Linked DNA regions of Homo sapiens: all the other regions are linked to region 6. The links are contacts of gene promoters, found by promoter capture Hi-C in blood cells and fetal thymus (Javierre and others, 2016). All regions are on one chromosome and are shown on one strand. The core of a region is centred on a gene start or on the middle of the fragment in contact, and the rest is flanking DNA. Distances in the headings are between cores, read along the strand shown.

Region 1 (3,846 bases), core at 107-2,606, 310 kb before region 6:
CACAATATTCACATGTAACAAACCTGCACATGTACCCACTGAATCTAAAATAAAAATTGAAATTATTTTTAAAAATTTTAAAAGCAGTGCTTAGTTCATATTAATTATGCAATAAAATTAGCTATTATGAACTGTCAATGTAACAGTGCATGTTTTAGTAACATGGGGGCATCATTCTCTTCAACTTTATTCCCTTCTGGCATATATTCCAAAAAGAAGCAAAAGAAGTGGTAGGAGCTGGACTTCCTGGCATCCAGAGATTTAACTACAATCATGAAAGCATAAGAATCATTCACAATAAATGGAATTGGATGGAGAAAAACAACTTACTGCCATCAGTTTCGTTCAAATTGCTGATGGTTGATCTGGAGTTTTCTGTTACGAACAGGCTTTGATACAAGTAGGCAATGCAAGTGATACGGTTTGGCTCTGTGTCCTCAACCAAATCTCATGTTGAATTGTAATTCCCAATGTTAGGGGAAGGACCTGGTGGGAGGTGATTGACTCATGGGGGCAGATTTCCTCCTTTTTGTTCTCATGATAGTGAATGAGTTCCCATGAGATCTGGTTGTTTAAAAGTGTGTAGCACTTCCCCTTTCTCTTTCTCTCTCTTTCTCTCTCTCTCTCCTGCCGCCACGTGAATATGTGCTTGTTTCTCCTTTGCCCGTCCACCATGATTGTAAGTTTCCTGAGGCCTCCCCAATCATGCTTCCTGTCCAGCCTGCAGTAATGTGAGTCAATTAAACCTCTTTTCTTGCTAAATTACCCAGTCTCAGGTAGTTCTTTATAGCAGTGTGAGAACAGACTAATACAGCATGTTTGCTGAATGGGACTGAAATGAGTCATAGAATAACCTAAAATATCTGGATGTAGATCATATGTTAAGAAAACACTTAAAATGTGGGGCAAATTTATACAAAGCACATTTTAAATATACAGTAACTTAATGATGGCTGTCAGTTGTATCACCCAAGGAAATACTGTTATCTATTGCTGCATTACAAATTATCTCCAAAGCTTGGTGGCTTAAAAACAACAATAAACATTTATTATCTCACATAGTTTTCATAGGTCAGAAATTTGAGAGTGACTTAGGTTTTCATGAGGTTGCAGTCAAAATGTTGGCTGGGGATGGATGCAGTCTCATCTGAAGGCTTGACTAGGCATGGAGGATCTACTTCCAAGATGGCCCATTCACATGGTTCCTGACAAGAGGCCTTGAGTTCTTGCCACAAAGACTTTTTCCATAAGGCTGACTGAATGTCCTCATGTCATGACAATGGACTCTTCCCATTGCAAATTACCCAAAACAGCAAGACAGATGCTGCAATGCCATTTATGACTAGCATTGGAAGTTACACTCTGTCACTTCTGCAATATCCTACTGGTTACATACATAAATCAGGTCTATTCAGTACAGGAGAGGGCAGTATAAGGGTTTGAATCACAGCAAGTGAGTATCACTGGGGGCCAACTGGAAGGACAGTTACCATGCTTCACCTCAGCAAAAACATGGAAACTAATTAATTTTTTAAAACTATAGTTTTTTGTTTCTAGTATGTAAAACTGTGTTGCTTATTTTTATTACCAGTTTTCAGACGGTAGCCTCACCAAATTGGTCAGTAATGTTGATGGTAGAATTGCACACATAAAGAAAAGGATTCTACAGCAACTTGAGGCTTAGTAAAAAGCTTAAGAACTTTTTTGTTGCTGTGGTTTTTTTTGTTTTTTTTTTTTTTTGTTTGTTTGTTTGTTTGTTTTTGGAGACAGAGCGTTGCTCTATTGCCCAGGTTGGAGTGCAATGGTGCTATCTCAGCTCACTGCAACCTCCGCCTCCCAGGTTTAGGTGATTCTCCTGCCTCAGCCTCCCAAGCAGCTGGGGTTACAGGCGCACACCACCATGCCCAGCTAATTTTTGTATTTTTAGTAGAGACAGGGTTTCACCATGTTGGCCAGGCTGGTCTCGAACTCCTGACCTCAAGTGATCCACCCGCCTTGGCCTCCCAAAGTGCTGGGATTACAGGCATGAGCCACAGCGCCCGGCCTTAAGCAAGTTTTTATGGCTGAAACTGTCTAATGGTCATTGCAGGAAAGTACACTGCTGAGCAAGAATGAAGGATTTACGAAGCTGTTTCAGGGTAGCGTGACCAGCGTTTTTGAAAAATCCTGCCCAAGAACATTTGAGGTGTGATTTTCCATAAATCATAGTAACTGAAAGGGACCACAGTCATTTTTATATATAACCTTGGATTTAAAAAATCAAAATAGCGGTAGTGCTATACATGGGTGAGAGTGAGAGCTCTGTGGCACTGTAAGAGTTAAATCAGTGAGATTAATACATGAGGGGTAGAGGCCATATATCAGTAGAAGGCACTCCAAAAGACAGAAGGTTCCCCAAGCCAAACACAAGAACAGAGATTGACTTCAGTTAAATCAATGGAATTAATATGTTTCAAAACCTGCAGGTCGACAAAGGGGGAAAGTCTATACAGAACACGGGGAAATGGGAGGCAGAGGAAAGGCTGCGATAATTATATATTAATAACCAATTTGTTGAGCAGTTGCCATGTGCAAAGCACTTTGCATGAATCATTTAATCCACACAACAACCCTATTATTGGAATCATGAAACTGTAAGTTAAGTGACTTTCTTTTTTTTTCTTTTTTTTGAGATGGAGTCTCACTCTGTCACCCAGGTTGGCATGCAGTGGCACAATCTTGGCTCACTGCAACCTCCATCTCGCAGGTTCAAGCAATTCTCCTGCCTCAGCCTCCTGAGTAGCTGGGATTACAGTGGTGTGTGCCACCAAGCCCAGCTAATTTTTCCATTTTTAGTAGAGACAGGGTTTCACCATGTTGGCCAGGCTGGTCTCAAACTCCTGACCTCGGGTGTTCCACCCACCTCAGCCTCCTAAAGTGCTGTGATTACAGGCATGAGCCACCATGCCTGGCCTGTTAAGTGACTTTCTTAAGGACACTAGTGGTAGAGCTGAGATTTGAACCACATCTGTAGGGCTTCAAAGCCTGTGGGCTTAACTAGTCTTATCCAGCTTTGTGCTGGAGAATGGAGCTTCTGGCAGGAGGATGCCTTGTGGCAGATTCACCCCTACAGTAGAGATACAGGGATTGGACCAGTGTAGTTCCAGAATACTGGCTATTAGCATCATCCCCTCAGTTCCAGGTTCCAGAAATCACCTTCTGATCATGTCTCCTCTTCCCACAGAGAGAGAACAAGGTCAGGGTCTGACAAGACAGGCTGGGCTGCTTGGCAGGTACAATTCTCAAGGGAACTAAAAAGGATATTTTTAAGATGTTTAATCATGAAATATTTCAAACATACAGAAAATAATATAAGAGATGGGCCGGGAGCAGTGACTCATGCCTGTAATCCCAGTGTGTGGGGAGGCCAAGGCAGAAGGATTGCTTGAGTCTAGGAGTTTGAGACCGGCCTGGGCAACACAGCAAGATCCTGTCTCTGAAGAAAAAAAAAAAGAGAGAGAGAGAGATGACTGAAAAGGTACCTTTACTGACAGTGCGTTGTGCTTGCTTCACAGTTTTCAAAAACTCTGAGAGATTAAAACACAGAGACTTTATCTAAGCACAAATAGGCCCAAGACCAGTGTGTCTATAAACTGGCTCAGACATGTTTGCAAGGGCAGCATTATTGGAAATAAGTATATGGCTTCTTAAGATATTACTTTGAAAGACAGAAATCAGAGTGACTACATTCTCACACACTTCAGAACTCAGCTCAAGGGCAGCTTTCCTGACCTCCTTGACAAAGGCAGATCCTTCTAGCATAATCTCTCACAGCATCTTATACCCCTCCTTTATAGCACACACTTA
Region 2 (4,323 bases), core at 852-3,351, 380 kb after region 6:
TTTAATTTGCATTTCCCTAAGGAGTGATGATGTCGAACCTTGTTTTCATGTGGTTATTTGCCATCCCAATATCTTCTTTGGGGAAGTGTCTATTCACAATTTTTGCCTATTTTAAAAAATATTGGGCTGTTTTGCTTATTATTGAGTTTTGATAGTTTTGTATATTTGGAATATAAATTCTTTATCATATATGTCATTTACAAACACTTTTTCCCATCCTATGGCTTTCCTTTTCATTCTCTTAACAGTGTCTTCTTTGAAAGAATAATAGTTCTTAATTTTAATGAGGTCCAACTTATCACTTGTTTTTCTTATTCGATGTCATATACAAGAAATCTTTGCCTCACTCAAACTTACAAGGATTTTCTCCTATATTTCTTCTGAAGAGTTATAGTTTTAGGCTTTACATTAGGTCTATGCTCTTTTATTTTTGGTTAACAGCTTCATTGAGATAAAATTTATGTACCATACATTTATGTACCATACAGTTCACCCATTTAAAGCATACCATTTAGTGGTTTTTGGTATATTCATGCAGTTGTACAATCATCACTCTCTAATTCCAGAACATTCTCATCGCCCCCGATGAAATGCCATCACAAGCAATAGACACTGGGGACCACTCGAGTAGAGAGGAGATGTGGCCTGAAAAACTACCTATTGGTTCTCTACCTCTCACTTTCTGGGTGATGGGATCATCCATATCCCAAACCTCAGCATCATGCAATATACCCATGTAACAAACCTGAACATGTACCAAATTTGAATCCAAAATAAAAGCTGAAAAAACTGTATATACAGATATATTTTATTAAAGTAATTTGGCTAGAACTGGGAGGATGGAAACTGATGTTTATTAAAGCTTTACTATGAGATAATAAAAAATACAAAGAAACTCCCTTCCCATTAGCAAGCACTTCCCATTCCCCTCTTCTTCCAACCCCTGGAAGACATTAATCTACTTTGTATCTCTATAGATTTAACCATTCTTGATATTTCATAGAAATGGAGTCATACAACATGTCATCCTTTGTGACTGGCTTCTTTCACTTAGCATGATGTTTTAAAGTTTCACCCACGTGGTAGCATGTGTCAATACTTCATTATTTTTTACTGCTGAATATTAAATTCAGGAATATTGTATGGATAAATCACATTTTGTTTATCCATTCATCAATTGGTTGGCATTTTGGTTGTTTCAATTTTTTTTGGCTATTAGGAATAATTGCTGCTACAGACATTTGCATATAAGTTTTGTGAGAACTTTTTTTTTTCCTTTTGTGTATATACCAAGGAATAGAATTGCTGGGTCACATGGTAACTCAATGTTTAACTTTTTGAGGAACTGCCAAACTGCTTTCCAAAGCAGCTTCACCAGTAATGTATGAGGGTCCCAATTTCTGCACATCCTGACCAACACTTGTTATTGTTCATCTTTTCGATGATAGCTATCCTGATGAGTGTGAAATGGTATCTTGTTGTGGTTTTGATTTACATTTCCCTAATGACTAATGATGTTGAGCATGCTTTCATGGGCTTCTTGGGTATTTGTATATCTTCTTTGAAGAATATCTATTCAAATCTTTTGCCTATTTTTAAATTGGGTTGTTTGTCTTTCTATTATTGAGTTGTAAGAATTATTGATATATTCTGGACATTAGAACCTTATGAGATGCATGATTTGCAAATATTTTCTTTCATTCTGTAGAGAAGTCTTTTTGCTTTCACTCTAATTCTTCTCATTTTCTTGATAGTGTTTTCTGAAGTAGAAATTTAAACAATATCAATGAAGTCAACTTTATGCTCAACTTTGAGTTATTTATTTATTTATATATTTGGGGGATGGAATCTTGCTCTGTCACCCAGTCTGGAGAGCAGTGGCGTGATCTTGGCTCACTGCAACCTCCACCTCCAGGGTTCAAGTGATTCTCGTGTCTCAGCGTCTCCAGTAGTTGGGATTATAGGCGTGTGCCATCATGCCTGGCGAAATTTTGTATTTTTTTTTTTTTTTTTTTTTTTTAGTAGAGATGGGATTTCATCACATTGGTCAGGCTGGCGTTGAACTCCTGACCTCAGGTGATCCGCCTACCTCGGCCTCCCAAAGTGCTGGGATTACAGGTGTGGGCCACCAAGCCTGGGCTTGAATTAATTTTTAATTATGGTACAAACTATGGATTGATTTTTCTCTCTTTTCTGCCTTCTTTCTCCATCTAATTGACTTGGCACGTTTTTCAAAAGTCAACTGACATGTGTATGTAGGCCTATTTTTGGAAAAAGTCCTGTTACCTTTACCTTCAAAGTACCTTTCAGATTTTTTCCCTTTTCTCTCTCTCTCTTTTATAGAGACAGGGTCTTGCTATGTTGGCCAGGTTGGTCTTGAAATCCTGGCCTCAATAAATCCTCCCATCTTGGCCTCCCAAAATGTTGGGATTACAGGTGTGAGCCACCACACCCTGCCTTTGTCCCCTTTTCTCTATCTCTACAGTACCCTGCCAATCCTGGGCCAACACCTGCCACTTTGGTGGCTGCAGCAGCCTCCTCCCTGGATCCCTTTCCCCACTCTTGTCTTACCCCTAATCCATTGTTCACTCAGCAGTGGAAGGAATTTTTATCAGGTGCTGGTATGCTCAACACCCTTCATTAGCTTCCCACTGCCCTTAGATAAAATGCAAACTTTATGTCATGCTATATGTCTGCATGGTCCTTTACTCAACTTCCTTTCTGATCTCATCATCTGCTACCACATTCTCCCTTGCTCCCTGGCCTCCTTGCTCCCTGTCCTTTTTTGAATTTTTGGAATGCATCCTGCTCCTTCTTACCTCAGGGCCTTTGCACATGCTATTCCCTCTGCCTGTGAAGCTCTTCTCCCCACTTTTGCATTCTTGTGTATCTATGAGTTACTCATATTTCTGTTTCAATATTTCTTTTTCAGCGAAACTGACTCATCTCTTATCCTCCATCTAAATTCAGTCTTTCTCTATTGCCTACCTTCCTGTCTCATTATCTCTAATCATGCTCCACATTGTTAAGCTACTGCTGTGTAACAACAGCAAAAATAGCACAGCATCTCAGTGACATTCAATAGTAAGTATTTATTTCATTCATGGGTTGGTGGCTCAGCTCTCATCCACTTCTTGTTCATCTCCTGGGATCAGCAGGCTAGGCAGGGTATGTTCTCATGGCTATGGCTAAAGTGTAAGAGGGTAAGCCTCCTTGTACAAGCTCATGTAAGATTCTTGCTTATGTCGTGACTACTCACATCTCATGGGCCAAAACAATGCCCAAATTTGCCAAAGTCCATGGATGGGAGGGATTGCAATGTTATATTGAAAAAGCTTGATACATAGAGGGGTGGAGAATTGGAGCCAGTCATTCAACCTACCCCATATCCTTTGCACAGTCACATTAAATAATGAATAACATATTTCTTATTTGATTATTTAATTGTTTATCTCCCTGCTCCATGAGAGCAGGGCATTGCCTACCCTGTTTACTTCTTTATGCCTCAGTGTACTGTACTGAGTGTATGCACTGTACCTGGAATATATTAGATTATCAATATTGAAGTAATTGGTTGGATAAATAAAGGAATGAATGAGGCCGGGCATGGTAGTGCATGCCTGTAATCCCAGCACTTTGGGAGGCCAAGATGGGTGGATTGCTTTAGCTCAGGGGTTCGAGACCAGCTGGGCAAAATGGTGAAACCCCATCTCTACAAAAAACACAATATTAGCCAGACCTGGTGGTGCATGCCTGTAGTCCTAGCTACTCAGGAGGCTGAGGTGGGAGGGTCATTTGAACCCAGGACATTGAGGCTGAAGTGATTCTTAAGCATGCCATTGCACTCCAGCCTGGGTAATAAAGTGAGACTCTATCTCAAAAAAAAAAAAAAAAAAAAAAAAAAGAATGTTTCCGTCTTTCACCCTCCCTCTTTTCTATCTCTGTAAAATGAGAATCATCATCTTCCAATCATTGGGATGTTGGAAAGATTCTGTTTAAATGAGGCTTTATCATCTGGAAGACCCATAGGATTTGGTAGTTCAAAGTCCAGCACAAGCTGAGGGTCGTATCCTGACCCAAGGGTCATGTAAGGGGCCAGCATACCCTCAAGCCCACTCACCAGGGAGCAGCACATCCTGTGGTCCGTCTGTAGGTCAGTGGATTGCATCCAGGCTCCTGGAATCAATGCCCCCAGTCTGAGAGTTCCCAGGTCCCCCTGCAAAACTGACAGCTTGATCCCCATGAAAAGTATCTGCTTATGAGGTCAACTATCATGCCTCACTGGGCCCCCTCACCCCCACTCCCTCTGTACAGGCTACAGAC
Region 3 (4,107 bases), core at 1,450-3,949, 360 kb after region 6:
CCTTAAAAACAAGAATGACTAATACCAACCTTGTGGTATCCTTGTGGTTGTTCTATGAAGTAACAAGCGCTTGGCACATAATGGGCACCTTTGTAAAATTTCATTTCCTGTCCTCAAGAAGAATCAGATGGCTGTGCAAACCCAGGGATCAACACATCTGGAGTTCTTGGCACCTCCCCTTCTCCCAAGGAAGGCCTGGACCTTGTGGGATGGGCTGCAGAATTCCATTTTTTTTTCCTTTTGCTTTCTTTCTTTGTTCTTGTTTGTGTTTTATTTCTTGAGAAAGGCAGGGTGGGGACAGTGGTGCATTTCTCAGCCACCCATGCATAGGACTCCATGTTAGCTGTCTGGGTGCCCAAAAGAAGGCTGCACGTTGGCCTCTTAACACCCAGGGCAGTAGGAGGGTCAGTTGGTGGGTGTGGGACACTGGGGTCGCCTCTCTGTGCCTGAGGCATCCTGAGATGCCATGCTCCAGATGGCAGGGGGAAGGCTGAGGGCTGAGAGGCTGCTGAGGGCTGGGGAGCCCTGTCTGGTCCAGCCTCTTCCAAGGTCTAGGGCTGTCCTGGGTGTCCTGATGCTTCTGCTGCTCCTGCCCAGAGATTAGAGCAGGGCCGAGCTGTGGCCCTGCCCTGGGGTGTTGAGCCCAGTTGAGGTGGCAATGGGTAGTTACTCAGGGGCTGGAGTTAGGACAGCTGGGCAGTGAGGGGTAGCTGCCCTGGGATCTGACCTAGCAGGCTGGCATTACCCCTGCTCAGTATCCATCACCTTCCCCATGTGTCCCAATGCTGGAAGCCTCATAGCAGGGTCACTTCGTGCTTCTTCCTGCTGGGTGTTTCCATACACAGTGTCACTGATACTGTAGCCATATCTGCCCTTCTGTTTCAGAGAAGAGGAAACCAGGACGAGACGTGACCCATCCAAGGTCCCGCAACAAGAAAGTGTCCACATCCAGTGGAGATTCACACTCAGCTCCGCCTGGCCCCACCCCTCCCCCTTTTCTTCCCCCTCCCCCTTCCCTGGCCCCCGCTCCTCCAGTACTTAATTTTAATGGCCTTTTGATTGCGAGCCTCTTCTTGAAGAGAGACAAATCATTATTGATGAATTTGGACTGCTCCAGTGTAAATGAGTCAACGGGGCCTGGCGTGGGTAGCTGGCCAAGCCATGCAGGCAGCAGGAATCTCAGGACCAGGCCCTGTGGGCCACAGAGAGCCCTGGTGTAGCCTCTTGTAAGCCGTTTATTTCCGTTCCCAATTAAACCAGGCGCTTGGCTGGAAGGGGTGTCCTTATCCTGGAGCTGGGGGGTGGGTGGCTTACAGAAGATCCTGGCCCCTAGGCCTGAGAACAGAGCCCCAGGATGGCCTGGGCTCCCCCTCTCCACCTGGCAGTCCCCTTTGGCCTGGGTAAATCGGAAATGAGGGCGGCCGCAGTGAGTCCCAGCCCTCACCCTCCATGCTCGGCTGTTTTCTTGGCAGCAAGACCTAGGGAGGCTCCCATGGCTGATTTTAGATTTGTTTTCAAAAACTGAAAGGAGAGAAATAATCCTAGCGAGAAAACAAAACAAAACAATAAAAAACAAACAAAACCTCTTCTAAAATGTTTCAGTCCTGAGCCTTGTCCCCACTCTGTGTGCACTTTCTGGTATTTGACCACCTTTGCCACCAGCCCCTGCTGCTGGGACCTTGAGCCAGCCCCAAAGCTCGTGAGTCCCTGTCCTCTGCCGTGGAATGGGGATTACATTATACACATCTCTGGGTTTGGGAGGTGATGGAAGGAGATGGGGGAAAGGGATGCATTTTGTAAATGAGGCCTTCTGATGATAATTTTATCATAGGCAGTAGACAAATACACTCACACGCCCCCAAATCACTAATGGGACCTCCCTCTGAAGGTGCTCCTTGCTTCTTGAGACGGGCATGATTACTCAGTAGATTCTGTGTAATTATTTAATCAAGCTCCAGCGAGTCCTCAAGTCCTCGGTGTGGAGCTGGGCTGCTGACCAGGCCCCAACCTCCCCTCCTCCTGCAGGGAGGCATAATCAGAGATGCTGAGAGGGAGGAGAAGCCCCAAGCACTTCTTTTCTTTGTGCAACAACTGGGTTGTGTGGGAGGGACAGCCGGGAGGGAGGGGGCCAGGTCACCTTGGGGCTCTCTTCAACAGTGGACGGGGCAGGAGGGGTCTTTAGAGACCTGTTTATGCTGTGCCTTTCTCTTTGAGGACACTGAGGATCAGAGAGGAAAAGCCAGCACGTCCCATGATTTCCCAACTGCAGACTTGGCTTCTGCCACTCATTCCCTCCCTCCCTCCCTCCCTTCCTCCCTTCTTTCTTTCCTTCCTTCCTTTCTTCCCTCTTTCCTTCCTTCCTTCCTTCTTTCCTTCCTTCCTTCCTTCCCTCCTCCTTCCTTCCTTCCCTCCTTCTTTCCTTCCTTCCTTCCCTCCTTCTTTCCTTCCTTCCTTCCTCTCTTCCTCCCTCCCTTCCTTCCTTCTCTCCTTCTCCTTCTTGACCCTCCTTTCCCATTGATTCCCTTCCCCTCCCCTTCCCTCCCTTTCCCTTCCCTCTCCTCCTTTCTCTCTTATAATGAAAGTACTGAACAGATGGCTGGGTGCAGTGGCACAGGCCTGTAATCCCAGCACTTTGGGAGGCTGAGGCTGGTGGGTCACCTGAGATCGGGAGTTTGAGACCAGCCTGGCCAACATGGCGAAACCTCATCTCTACTAGAAATACAAAAATTAGCTGGGCGTGGTGGTGGGCACCTGTAGTCTCAGCTACTTGGGAGGCTGAGGCAGGAGAATTCCTTGAACCCGGGAGGTGGAGGTTGTAGTGAACCGAGATGGCGCCACTGCACTCCAGCCTGAGCGACAGAGTGAGACTCCTTCTCAAAGAAAACAAACAAAGAACAAAAAAGTACTGAACAGATGCATGCATTCTCATGGTCAAACATGCAGATCATACAACAAAAGCAAAGGTCTCCCCAGATCCCTCTCTTCCCCCCCACCCAAATTCCCAATTCCCTCCTCAGAGACAACCCCAGCTCCCAGTTTGGAGACTCCCTTCAGACTTTCTGCTATGCATTCATACATTTACCTAAGTTCCTATAGAAGTTCTAGTTAGGTGTTTACTTTGGTTCATGTAAACATTCCTGACAATGCTGTCTAGACCAGTTCTCACTGTGGGGGGTGGGAAAGCGGGATGGGGAGGGAATTTTACTCCCCAGGAGACATTTGACACCATCTGAAGACATTTTTGATCATCATGGCTGGGGAGGGAGGTGCTCCTGGCATCTGGTGTGTAGAGTGCTAAAGGAGTGTTGCTAAACAGCCTGCCTTGCCCCGGACAGCCCCCAACACGAAGAATGATCCGGCCCAAAATGTCAGTAGTGCCAAGGTTGAGGAATCCTGGTCTGGAACGTTCTCAACTTGCTTTTTTCTAATAATAATAATGATTAATAATAATAATATATCTTGGAAATCTTTGCAGGTTAGGCAATATCTTTCTCTCATTCTGATGACTTCTGTGTCTTCTTTTGACTACATCACAGTCCATCCATCTCATCCCCTTTAGATTGATTTCAGGTTGTTTGTGACTTGGCGGTATTAATAGAAACATCCTTGTTATTCCCTGGTTTGGATGCTTGGGAGTGGGATTGCTATGTCAAAGGGGTAGTTATTGGTTGATTGATTTACTAAGTCCTCATATAGTGCTTCTATTTTAAATACAACAGGCACTTATTTATTATTGTTATTATTTTGAGATGGAGTCCTGTTCTGTTGCCCAGGCTGGAGCGCAGTGGCACAATCTTGGCTCACTGTAACCTCTGCCTCCCAGGTTCAAGCGATTATCCTGCCTCAGCCTCCCGAGTAGCTGGGATTATAGGCGCGCGCCAAGACGCCTGGCTAATTTTTTTGTATTTTTGGTAGAGACGGGTTTTCGCCATGTTGGTCAGGCTGGTCTCAAACTCCTGACCTCAGGTGGTCCGCCCGCCTCAGCCTCCCAAAGTGCTGGGATTACAGGCCACAACATCCACTTATTTTTAACTTTGATAGATACACTGCGCTTTTCCACAAAGGCTGTGCCAGCTGACCCTCTGTCCTTTCCTAGCTCAAAGCCAA
Region 4 (3,980 bases), core at 822-3,321, 380 kb before region 6:
TGATGTCACCATGAATAAGGAAGTTGAAGTCCTTGCCCCCACAGTCCTTCTTCAGAGAAATCTCCTTTGCAGACATTTTACATGGATCCCTCTACCTCTGTCTTTCTACATTCACAGACTGAATATGAGCCCATATCTATCAGACTTGAAGCCCCCATGGGCTGGTCCAAGGGTAGTACGTCATCCAAATTTATTAACATTAGTGTCACTAAGATTGCTATGCAACGCCCCACTGTGAAATTTGACTTGTCTTTTAAAAAATTAAATTAAATTAAACTAAAAGTTAAAAATAATGCCCACTTGAGTTGCTTCTGAAATATTCTCTTGGTCTCTGAAACCAAGTAGACTTACCCATGTAAAATTATCCTTGATGCAACCTTGGATTTCTATTGGCCTTTGTATTAGTCATCTATTGTTGCTTAACAAATTATACCAAAACTTAACAGCTTAAAATAACAAGCATTTATTATCTCATAGAGCCAAGGTGTGACTTAGCTGAATGGCCTGGCTCATGGTCTCTCATGAGGTTTCTTGCCATTAAGGTGTTAGCCAGGGATTTAGTCTCTGAAGACTCGACTGAGGCTGGAGGATCTGCTCCCAAGGTGGTACTCTGACATGACTAATAAGGTGACACTGGCTGTTGACAGTAGGCTCAGTTCTCTACTACATGGGTCTCTCAAGACTCCTAATGACATGGCACCTGGCTTTCCCTAGCATGACAGAAAGAGAGAGACAAAACCAGAGACAGAGAGACCAAGAGAGAAGCTATGATGTATTTTAACCTGATCTGAGAAGTGACATACCATAATTTCTCCTGTATTCTGTTTTTGGTGGGGTGTTTTTGTTTTTGTTTGTTTGTTCGAGACAGGGTCTTGCTCTGTCACCCAGGCTGGAGTGCAATGGCATGAACACAGCTCACTGCAGCCTCAACCTCCTGGGCTTAAGCAATTATCCCGCCTCAGCCTCCGTAGTATCTGGGACTACAGACTCACACCACCATGCCTGGCTAGTTTTTGTATTTTTTGTAGAGACGAGGTCTCATTTTGTTGTCCAGGCTGGTCTCTAATTCCTGGGCTCAAGCAATCCTCCTGCCTCGGCCTCCCAAAGTGCTGGGATTATAGGCATAAGCCACTATGCCCGGCCCTGCTTCTCCTGCATTCTGCTGGTGACACAGACCATTACTGCTGCTACATGGGAGGGGACCAGATAGGGTTTGAAAACCAGGAGGCAGGATCATTGGTGGCCCTCTTAGAAACTGCTTACCACAGTCTCCAAGAAGAACCCCCTCTCCCCCAAACTCCACCTAAACTCTGGAACAGGGAGGTGTGCAGATTTCACTGTTTCAAACTACGGAGGCCCACAACAAACAGTGAATTTACTCTGTCCTGGAAACTCATGTTTTAAGCCCAGTAGAACTGCTTTTCCTCAATTATACTTGAGCGTCATGCCATAGGCCTGCATAAAAGGACATTATAAGAAACAGCTCCAATTAAGTCACCGCTGTATTGCATCACTGTTCAGTCAGCTGACCCACGGGAAAAATATCTCTTTGGTCTCAGGGTCAGGAAAAGTTGAGCTTCTCCCAAATATTTGTTTTTCTCACATAAAATCTAGAATTTTATTACCACTCACATTTCCCTCTTTACTTTGGCCATTTGGAAGCTCGGAGCCAAATGTGTAAGCCTTTGCTGGTGTTGATCTTTTTGAGCTAATGTCATCCTGGAGTTATTTCTTCCACTTGTTTTCTATTTTCTCCAGCTACCTCAACTTTTTGTCTTATCCTTTTGTATATTTTGTACTTTTGTAATTCCCCTCAAAGCTTTTGTGGATTGAGATGGAGTTTAAATACACAATAAAATTAGTTTTTGCCCAAAAGACTGATGACCTGCATGTGCCATCTAGTGGTGAGAGAGACAACTGCCAGAATAGAAACCTCCCTGATTTTTCAGATGTGTTTTAGATGGGAGAGTGGTGAGTAGTGGGCAAGGGAAGAGGAGGGAGACCGGGCCCCCTCTGTGTGCTTTGTCAGGAAATTGAAACTGCTGAGGATTAAAGAGCCTCTAGGCAGGGCCAAGGAGCAGGTGATTCAATGGCTGGAAATGAAGATGATTTATCAGAATCTGAAGAAACAATCAAAAAATAGTGAAGAATGAGGAAGGCACTGGAAGTGGAAGGGTTAAGAAAAAAAACTGTTAGTAAAAGTAAACAATGAAAATGGACCTAATTGAAGCAAGTAATCACTTGAAAGGTGCTTAATGTAGGTTGATCACAGATGTGACCAGCCATTTTTTAAACATTCACATTAACTGTAGAAAGAAGCTTAGAGTCCAATGTTTTTATTTTACTTGAGAGAAAACTGGGGCACAGAAGCATTGAGCATCTTGTTCAAGGTCATACAGCCTATGAGCCCCAGGTCCAGGGTAACTCCTAGATCAGTCCTCTTTCCCCAGCACCACCCTACTCCTAACTGTATATAGCAGATGCTCATTTGGGCTTTCATTTTGCACACAGGGTTTCACAAGAAAAATGAGGTCATTACATAAAAATGCTGGATCCAGCATATTTTCAATGAATTATTACTAGCTGGTTTTGTAGCTACCCCCCTGACCTACCCCCAAAATGTCAGGGTGGTGGTTCAAAGCACTGGCTTCGTTAATCTTCACCATGTGGCAAGTCATCAGTTCACAATGATAGAGAAGGATTCCAGAAGCCAATGGCAGTAGGTGAGGGAGCCCCAATCTGGGGAAGAGAAAGTAAATTCACTCATCTACCATGTTAACCTAGCATCTGCTCTGGGCCAAGTTCTAGGCAGTTTGCTGGGGTGGCAATATCAACAATGCACTGGCCATGTCTGGAGCTATACGTATCCCATCTCCCTGTACCCTGACCTGTGTTCTTGGACACAACTTCAGCTAAAACTGAGGCATAGCTTGGATCTGGAGGGCCCTTGAAGACCTAGCCCAGGGATCTGTAGTCTCAAGTTGAATGTCTTGGAAACAGCCTGAAGTCAGGAACCAATGAGGGGGCTGGAGATACTGTCTAAAAAGGAACTTGAGACATTCCCATACTGGAAAGCACAAATATGGAACATTTTACTCATCTGAAAGAGTTCTATTAAACAGCACTGGCCAAGAGTGCCCTTTCCTGGATTTTCTGCTCCTCTGAGTCCTACCAGTTCTCCTAAGCCCTTCAGCAGCTGATATCAGCAGAGACTGATATGAGTCACTGATTCCTGGAAAAGACAGAACTCTGGTACAATGGCTGTTCCAAGTTGATGTCCTCAGAGGTACAAATGACACACCAGAGACAGAAGTTGTTTCTTAAACTTTCCGGGCTTCTGTGCTAGTAACGGGTGCCAGATGGGGCAAAAAGAACAGAAGGAATATTGAGGGGCTCAACCTTTGAGATCAGAAAGACCCAATTTCCTACCGAGGTTCTCCATTACTAGTTGGGTAATCTTTAGGCAGAGCCTTTGGGCACCAGTTTTCTTAGCAGCAAAAACTGAGAACTATGATTGTCACAAAGATTAAATGAGACAGTGGATGAGACAGTATCTGGCTCATGGGTAAGTGTAGATTTTTTACTCATCTCTTCTTGCGTCCTTTTGGATGCTAATTTCCACTCTGCCAAGGATAAGAACCACATGTCACCTTCTCATCAGGTGACAAGTGGAGGCTAGTCATGGCTAGCTGTTCCACTCATTCTCTTAATGAATATTTGTTATGAAAACAGCAATGGCCAGGTGTGGTGGCTCACATCTGTAATCCCAGCACTTTGGGTCACCTGAGTTCAGGAGTTTGAGACCAGCCTGACCAACATGGTGAAACCCCATCTCTACTAAATACAAAAAATTAGCTGGGCGTGGTAGCGCATGCCTGTAATCCAGCTACTTGGGAGGCTGAGGCAGGAGAATCACTTGAACCCGGGAGGCGGAGGTTGCAGTGAGCCGACATTGCACTGGACTCCAGCCTGGGCGACAG
Region 5 (3,732 bases), core at 79-2,578, 340 kb after region 6:
CCAGTAAAAATGATGACTACAAAAGCTTTTCAAGACATAGGCAGTACAGTAAGACATAAATCGAAACAAAAAGTTAAAAGCAGGGGGATGAAATTAAAGTGTAGAGTCTTTATTAGTTTTCTTTTTGCTTATTAGTTTATGCAAGCACTATGAAATTGCTATCAGCTTAAAATGATGGGTGATAAGATAGTATTTGCAAGCCTCATGGTAACCTCAAATCAAAAGCATACAATGCATACACAAAAAATAAAAAGCAAGAAATTAAATCATATCACCAGAGAAAATCACCTTCACTAAAATGAAGACAGAAAAAAAAGGAAAGAAGGAAGAGAAGACCACAGAACAAAAATGACAAAATAGCAGGAGTAAGCCATTACTTATCAATAACATTAAATATAAATGGACTAAATTCTCTAATCAAAAGACACAGAGTGGCTGAATGAATTAAAAAAATAAGACCCAATGATCTGTTGCCTACAAGAAACATACTTCACACACAGACTGAAAATAAAGGGATGGAAAATAATATTCCATGCCTCTTAAACCAAAAAAAGAGCAGGAGTCACTATACTTATATCACACAAAATAGACTTCAGGACAAAAACTATAAGAAGAGACAAATAAGGTCACTATATAATGATAAATGAGTTAATGCAGTAAGAGGATATAACAATTGTAAATATACATGCACCCAACATTGGAGCACTCAGATATATAAACCAAATACTATTAGACCTAAAGAGAGAGATAGACTCCAATACAATAACAGCTGGAGACTTCCACATCCCACTTTTAGCACTGGACAGATCTTCCAGACAGAAAAATCAACAAAGAAACATTGAACTTAATCTGTACAGTAGACCAAATGGACTTAATAGATATTTACAGAACATTTCATCCAGTAGCTGCAGAATATGCATTCTTTTCCTCAGCACATGGATCATTCTCAATGATATACCATATGTTAGATCACAAAACAAATCTTAAAACATTAAAAAAATTTGAAAAATATATCAAGTATCTTTTTGACCACAATGGAATAAAACTAGAAATCAATAACAAGAGGAATTTTGGAAACTATACAAACACATGGAAATTAACAATATTCTCGTGAATAACCAGTGGGTCAATGATGAAATTAAAGAGGAAATCAGAAAATTTCTTGAAACAAATGATAATGGAAACATAACATACCAAAATCTATGGGATACAGTGAAAGCAGTACCAAGAGGGAAATTTATAGTTACAAGCACCTACATCAAAAAAGAAGAAAAATTTCAAATAAACAATTTAATGATACATCTTAAAGAACTGGAAAAGCAAAAGCAAACCAAACCCAAAATTAGTAGAAGAAAGGAAATATTAACAATCAGAACAGAAATAAATGAAATTGAAACAAACAAAAAACAATACAAAAGATCAACAAAACAAAGTTTTTTTGAAAGATAAACAAAATTGACAAACCTTTAGACAGACAATTGAAGAATAAAAGAGAGAAGACAAAGAAATAAAATCAGAGATGAGAAAGGAAATACTACAACTGATACTGCAGAAATTCAAAGGATAATTAATGGCTAGTATGAGCAAATATATGCTAATAAGTTAGAAAATCTAGAAGAAATGGATAAATTTCTAGATACATACAACCTACCAAGATTGAATCATGAGGATCCAAAACCTGGCCAGGCACGGTGGCTCATGCCTGTAATCCCAGCATTTTGGGAGGCCAAGGTGGGCGGATCATGAGGTCAGGAGATTGAGACCATCCTGGCTAACACGGTGAAACCCCATCTCTACTAAAAATGCAAAAAATTTGCTGGGTGTGGTGGCGGGCACCTGTAGTCCCAGCTACTCAGGAGGCTGAGGAAGGAGAATGGCGTGAACCTGGGAGGGGGAGCTTGCAGTGAGCTGAGATCATGCCACTGTACTCCAGCCTGGGTGACAGAGCGAGACTCTGTCTCAAAACAAAAACAAAAACAAAAAACAAAAAACAAAACCTGAATGGACAAGTAATGAGTAATGAAATAGAAGCTGTAGTAAAAAGTCTCCCAGCACAGAAAATCCTGGGACCAGATGGCTTCACTGCTAAATTCTACAAAACATTTAAAGAAGAACTAATACCAATCCTACTCAAACTCTTCCAAAAAATAGAGGAGGGAGGAATACTTCCAAACTTATTCTATGTGGCCAGAATTACCCTGATAGCAAAACCAGACAAAGACACATCAAAACAAACAAACAAACAACAACAACAAAAAACAAAAACTACAGGCCAATATCCCTGATGAATTTTAATGCAAAAATCCTCAACAAAATACTAGCAACCAAAATTGAACAACACATTAAAAAGATCATTCCTTATGACTAAGTAGGATTTATCCCAGTGATGCAAAGATGGTTGAACATATGCAAATAAATCAATGTGGTACATCATGTCACAGAATGAAGGACAAAAATCATAAGATCATTTCAATTGATGCTGAAAAAGCATTTGATAAAATTCAACAGCCCTTCATGATAAAAACCCTCAAAAAACCTGGGTATAGAAGGACATACCTCAACATAATAAAACCCATATACAACAGACCCATAGCTAGTACCATACTGAATGGGGAAAAACTGAAAGCTTTTCCTCTAGGATCTGAAGCACTACAAGGATGGCCACTTTCATCACTGTTATTCAACATAGTACTGGAAATCCTATCTAGAACAATCAGACAGGAGAAAGAAATAAAGGGCATCGAAATTGGAAAGAAAGAATTCAGATTATCTTTGTTTTCAGATTATATAATCTTTATATTTGAAAAAATCCAATGACTCCACCAAAAAATTATTAGAACTGATAAACAAATTCAATAAGGCTGCAGGATACAAAAACAACATACCAAAGTCAGTACCATTTCTATTTGCCAACAGCGAACAACCTGAAAAAGAATTCAAGAAATTAATCCCATTTACAATTGCCACGAATAAAATAAAATACCTGGGAATTAACTTAACCAAAGAGGTGAAAGATCTCTACAATTAAAATGATAAAACAGTGGTGAAAGAAACTGAAGAGGACACAAGGAAATGGAAAGATATTTCATATTCATGGATTAGAAGAATCAATATTGTTAAAATGTCCTTACTACCCAAAGGAATCTACAGATTCAATGCAATCCCTATCAAAACACCAATGACATTCTTCACAGAAATAGAATAAACAATCCTAAAATTTATATGGAACCACAAAAGACCCAGAATAGCCAAAGCGATCCTGAGCGAAAAGAACAAAACTGGAAGAATCACATTACCTGCCTTCAAATTATATTACATAGCTATAGGAACCAAAACAGCATAGTACTGGCATAAAAACAGACACATGCACTAGTAGAGCAGAATAGAGAACTCCCGAATGAATCCATATATCTAGGGTGAACTCATTTTTGGCAAAGGTACCAATAACATACATTGGGGAAAGGACATTCTCTTCAATAAATGGTGCTGGGAAAAGTGGATATCCACATGCAGGAGAATGATACTAGACTCCTATCTTTCACCACATAGAAAAATCAAATCCAAATTGATTAAAGACTTAAATGTAAGACCTCAAACTATGAAACCACAAAAAGAAAACACTGAGGAAACCCTCCAGGACATTGGAGAGGTAAAGGATTTCTTGAGTAATAATAACCCACAAGCACAGGCAACTAAAGCAAAAATGGACAAATGGGATCACACCAAGTTAAA
Region 6 (3,870 bases), core at 182-2,681:
CCCCCATATTTTTTTTTTTTTGGCTTTTACTCTGAGATGGGAAACCTTCTGGGGGCTTTTGAGCTTAGGTTTCAACAGGATCCCTCTGGCTTCTGTGTTGAGAGAAGGCACCATGAGAGCACAGTGGAATCGTGGAGAACAGGCAGGAGGCTACTACAATATTCCAGGAAAGAGGAAAAGGGGTATTTTAAAGGTAGAGCTGACAGGCTTTTCTAATGGGTTGCATGTGGGATATGATAGGGAGAGTGGAGTCCAGGATGACTCCAATGGTTTGTCTGGAGTCATCAGAAGAATGGAGTTGACATGAACTGAGGTAGGGAAGGTTGTGAAAGGAGCAAGCTAAGGTGCCACGTATGGGTGTTTGACTATCGACTTGTTTACTTGGACACATCGCTCACACTTGTGTATATGCTCCCTGGTTTTCAGGATCTGAAGGTTCTAAAGTTACTTGAAGTTAAAGGCAGCCTTACTTATTGAACACCAAGCACTGTGCAGAAATCTTTATATGTGGTGTCATTTAACCCTTTTAATATTTCTACTGATTTACTCATGTTTCATTGCCCTTTTACAGTTGAGAGATTAACACGTCCAAAGTCACTCAGACAATTATTAACCTGCTAGATTAATGCAGATCTGGGATTCCCATCCAGGTGTGTCAAGACCGTAGAGCTCCTGCTGTTTACTAATCACTGGATTCTAAAGGTGGGAGCCACTTTCTGAGCATATTTGCTGCAGACTTGGTTCCATAACTAAAAAGGTGCCTGGATCATGTGACGAGAATTCAGGAAAGAACCCAACCCCATCCCAGGCATTACAGGTTATACAACAGCTATGAAGAAAGGACGGTATTAGTGGACTCGAGGAGGCTGACTGATGTTTGAAAGTTCAAGTACTTGAAGACTCAATGTTAAAACAGTGATCAAGAGTTAGTTTTTTTGTTATTATTCTTAAGAAAACAGAAAATATTAAAAATTGCAGTGAACCCTTGGTTGGATAAAAGACCACTCCTAGTCGACGCTTGTTGGGAAACACTGGAATTGGAGGAGTGGGGGCAGACAGGAGCGAGAGCCCCTGCCAGCCTACACACACATCCTTTTGAAAGTGTAACCTGGTGTGACCTTCTTTAAGTGGTCCTCTGGAAAGAGCAGGATATGGAGTACAAAAGCCAGGAACCTCTGGGACCGCAGCATCCGCCCCCAGCGCCTCCTTCCCCGTCTTCTTCAGCCTCCACACGGTGGGGCGGGGAGGAGGGGGGAGGAGGAGTGCTGGCGCATGCGCCGGGGGCAAGGTCCGCTCCCCGCGACGTCAGGGGGCTCGCACCCGCTCGAAAGCCCCGCCCCGCGGCCGCCAGAGGCGACCTGGGCGGACTGGGGGGCCTGGGCCACGCCCCCAGCCGAGTCGAGCAAGGCCGAGGGGAGCCGTGCAAGGCCGAGCAGAGCCGAGCGCCTCCGAGAGCGGCCGAGCCCAGCCGAGCGGCCCGGAGTCGGTTGGTGCAGCTGCGTCCCCGCCGCTCAGCAGTCCGCGGCTCCGGCGTCGCCGCCGCCGCCGCCTCTGCGGGGCCTGCGCCGGCCGCCCGCCCGGCCGCGGGGAGGGAGGCCCGCAGCGCGGGAAGAGCGGCCCGGTCGCGGGCGCCGCCACCGCCGCCGCTGCCAGGTGAGCGCCCGCCACGGCCAGCCGGCCCCGCGTGCCCCCGCGGCTGTCAGTCCCCGGTGTCTGTATCTCTCTCTGCCTGTCAGACCCTGTGTCTGCGCGAGCTCCTTCCCGCCACGCCTGGCCCGCGGCCGGCCCGCAGTCTCAGTCAGCCCCCTCCCGCCGGCTGCCCCTGGTCTTTCTGTCAGCCGCCAGCACCCCCATGCTGAGAGGCTCCGCCCCTTCCCCCCGGAGCCCCGCCCTCCGCCATCTGTCATCACCCCCCGGGCTCCAGGAGCGGGCGTCCAGGGGTCCTAGGGGTCAGGGTAGCCCCGCGTGCCACCATCGTAGAAGGCGCAAAAGGGGGTGGTAGAGGGGAAGCGGGGGCGTTCGCGCAGGCCCGCCTGACCGTGTGAGAGTGCATGCCCGAGTGTGCGTTCCGCGTGTGCACCCGAGAGCCGCCTGCGTCCACGCCCGAGGGCCCTTGCACTCTGCTGGGATGTGGCAGCCCATGCCCCCGGTGTAAAGAGCGTCAGCTCGACCAGTGAAGGCGGCAGAGCCAGGACTCGAACCACTCGGGGTACAGTAGCACCCTGAATCTTGGGACCCTTGTCTGCCCACGCGAAAACACTACACGTGGGCCCCAGGTCCTCGGATTCCCTGAGTGGCGTGTGAGTGGAGTTTGGAGCTTGTTAAGCCTTCCCAGTTTGGGATTTTCATTCAGGGAAGCCTGTTGGAAGTGATTGAGGAGTGGATGGGATGTAGGACTTAGGTGGGGAGTGTTTGAGGGCTTGAGTCATTTTGAGTTGCATGGTTTACATTTCTGAGCAGTGATTGCCCTGGGCTTGTGCCCTGCGAGAAACTTATGTGACTTGGGGTGGGGGAGTGAGGTAGGAAGGAATGCTCCTTTCTGTTTTTATCTATGTGAACACATAGTATATATTTATCCAGATATCCTAAATGTTTATTCATGAGGCGTCCACACGTCCTTAATTTAAAAAAGGATTACAGTAGTTTCCATTTATACACGTTCTTGTGTGTTGTTATCTCAATGCTCTTTATTTGTGGTAACTTAGTATTGCAATATTTCAAAACTAAGAGAAAATGCATCCTAAAACAATTGGTATTTTGCCGGATAATTCTGAACCACGGAGAAGGAGCCAAAAGCGCACTTCATTAGCTGGAACAACTTATTCGAGCTTAATTTGTTTCTAAGAGACATACAGTGGAAAAATCCAGAAGCGCAAAATAGTATCAAAGACACATAGAAAATGAATGAAAAGGGCCCTTCTGTTGCTGCCTTGGAAAGATGGTATCAAAGTTGCTGTAGAGGACAGAGCCACTATGTAATGATCAACATATTAACCAAGTTGGTTTTGTGACCTTGATACATTGAGCGGGGCTTGATTTGTGCAGTGGTTCATGACAGGCAAACATTGCATGGGAAGTGTGGTAATTTTTGGAAAAAAATGTTCCCCATGTTGTTTTGGTTTTTGGTTTTGAGTTTGTTTTTTTTTTTTTCATATTGAAGTAAGATTTCAGACAAGGGAAGTCTCATGGTGGAGTGCTTTTTTCTTTTTAAAGATAACATTAAAAATTACCAAAGTAATTCATGTTTAAGGCAGAAAACTTGAAAAACAAAGAAAAGCATTGCAAACAAAACAAAACAAAAAAAACCCCATAATCCCACAAACCATAGTAAATCACAATTTGGTATTAAGCCTTTTAGCCTTGTTCCCATGTATACGTGTTTTTTCTTACAAAAATGCTATCATACTACACAACTTTTATTCTATGCTTTTTTTCTTTGACTTATAACTAGATTATGAGAGATACATCTTTGTTTTATGAGTAGGAACTTGTGTTTCTCTTTGCAATCCTTTAAAAAATTCAGATCATGTTAGTCCTCTGCTTAGAGCCCTCCAATAGCTTTTTGTCTTAAAGTAAACTCTGAAGGCCTTGCTGTGGCCTGCCAGGCTAACCCTCTTCCGAACAACCATCCTCACTTCGAGCCTTGCCAGACAGATCTCTTTGCTGTTTCTTAAAAACATCAAGCTTACACTTGTAATCACAGCACTTTGGGAGGCCGAGGCGGGCGGATCACGAGGTCAGGAGTTCGAGACCAGCCCGGCCAGCATGGTGACACCCCGTCTCTACTAAAAAAAAAAAAAAAAAAAAAAAAAAAAGCCAGGCCTGGTGGTGCGTGCCTGTAATCCCAGCTACTCAGGAGGCTGAGGCAGG

What was found. The method cuts DNA at HindIII sites, captures the fragments that hold promoters and counts their contacts. A CHiCAGO score of 5 or more calls a contact.
Region 1: a fragment that was not itself captured here is called in contact with the fragment with the promoter of ZHX3 in region 6 in 1 of 17 cell types (naive CD4 T cells); the score reaches 5.8 in naive CD4 T cells.
Region 2: a contact is called between a fragment that was not itself captured here and the fragment with the promoter of ZHX3 in region 6, in 4 of 17 cell types (fetal thymus, total CD4 T cells, activated CD4 T cells and 1 more). The highest score is 6.6, in fetal thymus.
Region 3: a fragment that was not itself captured here is called in contact with the fragment with the promoter of ZHX3 in region 6 in 8 of 17 cell types (activated CD4 T cells, naive CD8 T cells, naive CD4 T cells and 5 more); the score reaches 22.3 in activated CD4 T cells.
Region 4: a contact is called between a fragment that was not itself captured here and the fragment with the promoter of ZHX3 in region 6, in 7 of 17 cell types (activated CD4 T cells, non-activated CD4 T cells, total CD8 T cells and 4 more). The highest score is 8.9, in activated CD4 T cells.
Region 5: a contact is called between a fragment that was not itself captured here and the fragment with the promoter of ZHX3 in region 6, in 11 of 17 cell types (non-activated CD4 T cells, total CD8 T cells, naive CD8 T cells and 8 more). The highest score is 16.3, in non-activated CD4 T cells.

What each region holds. Positions count from the first base shown.
Region 1 is chr20:41,624,777-41,628,622 of GRCh38, reverse strand. No RefSeq gene overlaps it. Among named protein-coding and RNA genes, the nearest start is that of CHD6, 8.3 kb to the right of the region's middle. The HindIII fragment of the contact is 674 bases long and covers 1,020-1,693 here.
Region 2 is chr20:40,932,624-40,936,946 of GRCh38, reverse strand. No RefSeq gene overlaps it. Among named protein-coding and RNA genes, the nearest start is that of TOP1, 94 kb to the left of the region's middle. The HindIII fragment of the contact is 2,473 bases long and covers 865-3,337 here.
Region 3 is chr20:40,957,876-40,961,982 of GRCh38, reverse strand. No RefSeq gene overlaps it. Among named protein-coding and RNA genes, the nearest start is that of TOP1, 69 kb to the left of the region's middle. RefSeq lists an enhancer at 416-1,047. The HindIII fragment of the contact is 7,671 bases long and covers 1-4,107 here.
Region 4 is chr20:41,695,896-41,699,875 of GRCh38, reverse strand. No RefSeq gene overlaps it. Among named protein-coding and RNA genes, the nearest start is that of CHD6, 80 kb to the right of the region's middle. RefSeq lists a silencer at 372-666. The HindIII fragment of the contact is 500 bases long and covers 1,822-2,321 here.
Region 5 is chr20:40,974,122-40,977,853 of GRCh38, reverse strand. No RefSeq gene overlaps it. Among named protein-coding and RNA genes, the nearest start is that of TOP1, 53 kb to the left of the region's middle. The HindIII fragment of the contact is 2,601 bases long and covers 28-2,628 here.
Region 6 is chr20:41,315,292-41,319,161 of GRCh38, reverse strand. ZHX3 (zinc fingers and homeoboxes 3) reads left to right here and starts at 1,431. Exons shown (of 4, transcript NM_001384317.1): 1 at 1,431-1,653. RefSeq lists an enhancer at 1,002-1,051 and silencers at 1,162-1,611, 1,622-1,911. The HindIII fragment of the contact is 7,702 bases long and covers 1-3,686 here.